2 separate regions of the Homo sapiens genome follow, and region 2 is linked to region 1. Evidence: promoter capture Hi-C in 16 types of primary human blood cells and fetal thymus (Javierre and others, 2016). All regions are on one chromosome and are shown on one strand. The core of a region is centred on a gene start or on the middle of the fragment in contact, and the rest is flanking DNA. Distances in the headings are between cores, read along the strand shown.

Region 1 (3,090 bases), core at 310-2,809:
TCATTGCACACAGCTGCCTAGATGTAGCCTCAGCCCCATTCCTCTCTCTCTTTCTCAATCCCACTTTTGTGATTATTGTATGTATCTGCATCTGTTTTCTGTTTAGCTTCCAATATGAGTCCTAGAGAACATCTCATCTCCATCATATGTCCAGGAAAAGCTTGTTGATTGACTGAATACTCCAGGTGCCACAAAGGAAAGTTCTTTAGGGATCATAGTTGTTGCTGGGTTTTTTGTTTTTTGTTTTAATTAAAAAAAAAAAAAAACTCTTGAGTAAAGGAAGGAATACGATCCATCTGATCTTTCTGAGACTTCCAGGCTCTGTCAACAACTATTTGGAAATAAATTCTTAGGCAATTAGATCATGGTATCTTCTTTCAGACAGCATAGGGAAATGAATATAAACCTTCAGAAGGAAAAAAAAAAAGATGTGAAGACTAGAGCTGGAATTTGACCCTTTTGGTCATGTTGGGATATTGAACATTTAGAAAATTGAAAGTCTTGAGAAAGGAAAAGTTAACTTAGAAGGATACATGTCAAACCACTGGATATGCCCTCTGAATTGCTTATCCTTGATTCAAATCCTTCATCTACTCCCCTAGTCACAGTGCCAGCAATAGAAGTTTTCTCTCAGAAGTTCTTTTATTCAGAAGTTTGTTTTACAAAGAAGTTCAAGGATGTTTATGCCAATGATTCAGGTTGGGCATCAAGTCCCATGTAAATTTAAATTCCTGGTCTCTTTCAGAGTTTCTGTTTAGTATTTGTTCTTGTTCTAAATGGATTTTTACCCTCAAAATGTTTCTTGGGTGTTTTTTGTTTTTTTAGACAGGGTCTTGCTCTGTCGCACAGGCTAGAGTACAGTGGTGCAATCATGGCTCACTGAAGCCTCAAACTCCTGGGTTCAAGCTATCCTCCCACCTCAGCCTCCAAATAGCTGGGGCTACAGGCACGAGCCACCATGCCCGGCTTTTTTTTTTTTTTTTTTTTTTTTGAGATGGGGTCTCCCTGTGTTGCCCAGGCTGGTCTCAAACTCCTGGCCTCAAGCAATCCTCCCACCTAGGTCTCTCAAAACACTGGGATACAGGCATGAGCCACTGCACCCAGCCTTTCTTGTTTGTTTGTTGTTGTTATTTGTCATTTAATTAGCATCCTTCCCCCTTGCAACTCTTTCTTGGTGTGGTGGTTTTAAAATACATCCACAAATTCTTTGACACTTCCCCCTTCAAAAGGGAGAAACTAACTCTTCTCCCCTTGAGTGTGAGTGGGATATGATGGCTCACTTCTAAATAAAGATAGACTATGGCAGAATTGATGGTATGTGACTTCTGAGACTGGGGTCATAAAAGGCACCAAGGCTTCCTCCTTGCTCTCTCTCTCGGATTACTCACTCTGGGGAAAGCCAACCACCATGTCTGTGATGAGGCCACTCAAGCAGCCTATGGCAAGCAGTCCACATGGCAAGGAACAGAAGCCCCTTGCCAACAGCCAGAATGAACTTCCTAGGCTTGTGTGGGAGTTGCCTTGAGAGGAGGTTCTCCAGCCCCAGTCAAGTCTTCAGATGACTGCATCCCTGGCTGACACTCTGTCTGTGACCTCACAAAAGGCTGCACCAGAACCACACACCTAAGCCACTCCAAGATTCCCACAGAAACTGAGGCATAACAAAGGTTTATTGTTTTAGGTTTCAGGATCATTTATTTTGCAGTAATAGATAACTAGTATTCTAGATAACTAGTATTCTTGGTGTCATTTTGTGATGGTCTGTGATTTGGTTGACAGAAAGATGAGTCTAAGAATATCCCAGCTGGTCTGAAAACACTGATCATTTAGGGGTAAACATAGGCTAAGTGACTGTTCTCCCATTTTTCCTTTGTGATAAGTTGGTTGTGGGACCCCACGGGTAAAAGAATCCTTCCATGTTGGTGGGGTACTGTTTAAAGTATGATTTTCCTTAAGTAGCCCATCTCTTAGTAGCTGTTACCTTACTGATGATGCCGAGAGATGTAAGGGAGGACAATTAATTTTGATAAGGCCATGTGAGGAAGAAGAAAAAACTCTGGTTTTATTCCCACCTGTACTGCCCAGGATTTCTGTGATCACAGGCAAATAACTTCATTGCCTTGGACCTCAGCTTCCTCATATGGAAAAAGAGGAGTTGGTATTAGATCCAGTCCTCACAGCACATGTCCCGTCGAACTCCAATTCCTCAGAAGGTTAACAGGCATTGTGTAAAAAAGGAAAGGTTCTAGGGCCAGATACATTTGGAAACCAGTGGACCAAAGTTAAGCAGATCCCTTACCGCAGGACTTCCTAGAGCCTCCGATATGCTGATGTGCACCGTGGTTCTTCAGGATGGGGATATGCACTGTTTCCCAAACTTATTTGATCACTGAATCCCTTTGTTTTTGGTAAAGCATCATGTGGATCTAAAAAGTTTTTGGCAAACTTTGGAAAATGCTAAACTGATGATTTCTAAGGTTCTCCTAACATGGCATGTTTCTAAATATGCCCCTTTCCCCAAGGAGATTCTCTCGGTGGAGCAGTTCTTGTGTCTAAATCCTGAAACAGGATTTCAGCCATTAATCATTTGTGACTATTATTATTTTTATTCTCTAAACATCAGTTCTGAATCATAGAGTCCACAATCCATCCATCTCTGGATAGGAAGAAATACAGGAAGATAGGAGCCCCACGTGGTTATAGTGTACACTGCCCCTTGTGCCTTTTCAGTGTTTTTCATAACCCTCATGAGAAATAATGTTGGCAGGTGTTACCAGTACTAGTGATCTCTGGTCAAATGTTTGAGTAAAGGAAAATGTGGCTGGATATGGTCTCTGGGCACCCAGCATTTCCTTCCAGTGGGTGTTCCTGTACTACAGAGGCTAGAAGGCTAAAAACTACATTTCCCAGATAATCTTTGCAGCTAGGGAGCTGGATGCAAATTATTTTCTGCCAATTAGATGTGCTTGCATGAGATTTGGAGAGCAGAAGTGAGGCAGAAGCATCAAAGCTCTGGGCACTGAGCTCATGAAGACTGAGCATGATAAGAGGCAGTTACTGTATAGTAACTCTGTTTCTTCTTAAAAATAT
Region 2 (3,090 bases), core at 211-2,710, 230 kb before region 1:
GGGAAATACGTGGAGAGTGGAAGGACAGCCTAAATCCCAGTGTAGGAGCGGCATAGAAATTCCACACAAAATGAAAGAATTGTTCCAGTCCATCTCTATTTTCATGACGCTGAGAAGTCCCGAACAATGCTTTCCCTAGGTTGTGGCAGTACGCTTAGAGCCAAAGGGCATTTATCAGGGGGTTATTTGCCATGAAAACCAGGAATTCCAGGATTAGTTTCCTTTTGGACAGCACCTGAAGTGGAAAAGTGTGAATATTAGAATGGCAAGCATGTGGGAACTTCTGCCAAGTTCTGACATTTTCCCTTATTGACTCGTGAACACCTGAAGAAACACTTGTTGAAGGAGAAATTATTGGTAGTCCCTCTCAAAACACAGCCAACAGCAAGCTAATTGCTTTTGCAGATGGCCAGGGAGTCGCTCTTCCCACTCAGACACCGGCTTATGGCCACACTTGTGGTCCTCGTGGCTGAGCCAGCAGGGCAGGACGTCAGCTGGAGCAGCTAGGACCTAAAATTAGGCCCTTGGCAACTCTCTAATCTTAGCTGCAGGTTCAGCTTCTTCATTTAATTCTCTTTGCCCTCAGCATGAACTTGGGCTCTGGGAAAGGAACACTGTTTAATGATTTGGGGGTGGGGGTAGTAGGAAATCATTAAGCTGCCCCTTCTTAAAACTGGCTCCGCTCTGTTCTTTCAGGAAACCTTCCAAATGTTACCCTTGGAAATTTAAGACTGATTTTGGAACCTAGCCATTTTGAACTACAGACACTGATCCAGAAAAGTATTTTTTATCTGAGGCAGTAAATGACACGTGATTTAAGAGTCTGGTCTTTAAGCCATGGTCCTTGATCGTCAGGACATCAAAGGCTGTCTCTCTTTCTCTCTCTCTCTCTGGGTTGGTCCCATTTTGCTTGCTAGCCAAGTCTCATACTTGAGTCTCCCATTCCTTCCTGGACTAAATCCCCTTCTCCTTTAAAACAGGTTTTAGCATCTTAGGGGGAGAAAATCTAAAAAGCTTGCAATTGTTTCACAAGTAATTTTGCAAAAATGCTGTACCACAGCCCCCATTGTTAGAGTATACTTATATACACATAGGGATGGAAGAAAGCATGGCATTTACCTCTACCTTTGATCACACCATCCCGATATCTATACTCCGAAAGTTCTTCAGCATGCCTCATTGCCCTGTTAAAATCTGAGTCGTGTTTTGTTTTGGTTCAATAAAATAACTTCAGGCCTTCTTTGAGTGTTATCTCCTTAATATATTGGAAGGTCCCTATGATATCACTTCCCAAAGGCCACTTTAGGCTGAATTCCTTTAACCTTTGTTTCCAAATACAAATTCTGTTTCTCCCACTTTTTAGTCATTTTGTTTTATTGTTCTCTTCTGAATCTGTTCCAATTATTTTGCTTATCTCTGAGAATATGGAGGCAGCATAGACTCAAATTTCTTGCATGGTGGGAGAATCATGTTCCATTCATTCATTGGAGGTTTACTGAGTGTCCATGAGGTGTGATATTAAAGGATACAAAAATGAATTAGTCATAGACCCTGTCCTCAAAGAGCTTACGGTCCTTTAGGAAATAAGACAAGTATATAAACAGCTGCAGATCAAGTATACAAATAAAGTGCTCTAAGTGTTTGAAGGAGGTGAGATTAACTCCAGCTGTGGGGATCCAGGATGATTTTGTGAGTGGGCCTTGAAAGATGATGGGTCTGGATGATTGGAGAGGAAGGGCATACGGGCAAAGGAATGTCGTGTTCCTCTCAATACCATCTAAGATCATTCTGAAGTTGTCTTCTTTTTAATCATAGTGGCTCAGTCTTAACTCATATACCATTGTAGTTTTTCTTACCATCGTATGCCTTTTTGCAACAATTTAAACATTCTTTAACATGTACTAATCAAGCTTAGTTTCACTCTGAATGCTTCCACGTAATTTCAAACCTATTCTGTTTATTGGTTTTTTTGTGTATTCTATTCAAAGTTGAACCAGAATATTTTGTCATTCTATGAGGCCAGGTTTCAGGGGCTGGGGATGTTGGAAAAGAGGGAGGGAAGATTCTCAGCCATCCTCTTGACTCTGTGCTACTTCTAGGAGTTTGTAACGTAACTCAGACCAATCTGTCCACCTTTTAAATCCTCCATTAATCAGCCCTTAAGAAGCGAATTTGGAGATGTCCTCCATAACACACTTCCTCACCTTCTATGCACAAAGTTGTTCTCCATCCATTTCAATATGTTAGAGGAGATACTGGGTTGAGACGTGGTTTATGGGGTTGCATAGCATTGTGTTGCTGGGAGAAGTCTGGGAAAACCAAGTCCCTCAGCCCTACCAAGCCCTTAAGTTGGTTAAATTTGTTACGTTCATGGCTGAGTCTCCAAGTAAAGATAAATAATTCAGAAAAGAGTTATTTATAAAGGATCTTAAAGATTACTTATTCCATACCTTCATTATATAGCTGAGTCACTGATGCCCAGGGAAGAATAATCGTACCTGCCTTTTATTGGACATCTATATGCTTTATATAAATTATCAATCTATGTACTAATTGGTGAGGCTGGAATTGTTATCCTCATATTACAGATTAGACAGCTGGAAGTCAGGTAGGCTAATTGCTTGAAGTCACACAGCTAGAAAGTTGTAGAGCCAAGATTTTACTTCAAATCTGACTCCTAAAAGCTACTCCTTTCCTACTATTCATTGTTCTTGCTAAAGATCACATAGGAACTTAGCTGCAAAATCAAGATTAGAACCAAGATCTTGATGCCCAGTTCTGTGCTCCTCCCACTCTCTCATGTACTGTGTTTATTTTAAAGCTTTTCTGGGAAAGATTCCACACATCTCCAGGTAGCGTGTTTAATATCTCACAATTAAGAGGGCTCAATTTATGTTGAATAGAGATTTACACCCCAGGACCAACTTCTTCCTCAATGCCATCTTACTTTAGTTTATTTTCTTTTCTTTTCTTTTCTTGTAATAATATATGCAATCAGCCTTGGGTTTTAAGATTTTTTTTTTTTTTTGAGATGGACTTTTGCTCTTGTCGCCCAGGCTGGAGCGCAATGGCATGATCTTGGCTCACTGC

Evidence for each region. Contacts are between HindIII fragments. The CHiCAGO score rates a contact against its expected background, and 5 or more counts as called.
Region 2: a fragment that was not itself captured here is called in contact with the fragment with the promoter of KIAA2012-AS1 in region 1 in 1 of 17 cell types (endothelial precursors); the score reaches 5.9 in endothelial precursors.

The regions. Positions count from the first base shown.
Region 1 is chr2:202,115,499-202,118,588 of GRCh38, forward strand. It overlaps KIAA2012-AS1 (KIAA2012 antisense RNA 1), which reads right to left and starts at 1,560. Exons shown (of 4, transcript NR_135244.1): 1 at 1,389-1,560; 2 at 1-406. The region is part of intron 11 of KIAA2012; the gene reads left to right. The HindIII fragment of the contact is 4,910 bases long and covers 159-3,090 here.
Region 2 is chr2:201,883,315-201,886,404 of GRCh38, forward strand. All of the region lies in intron 12 of CDK15 (cyclin dependent kinase 15), which reads left to right. Among named protein-coding and RNA genes, the nearest start is that of CDK15, 78 kb to the left of the region's middle. The HindIII fragment of the contact is 896 bases long and covers 1,013-1,908 here.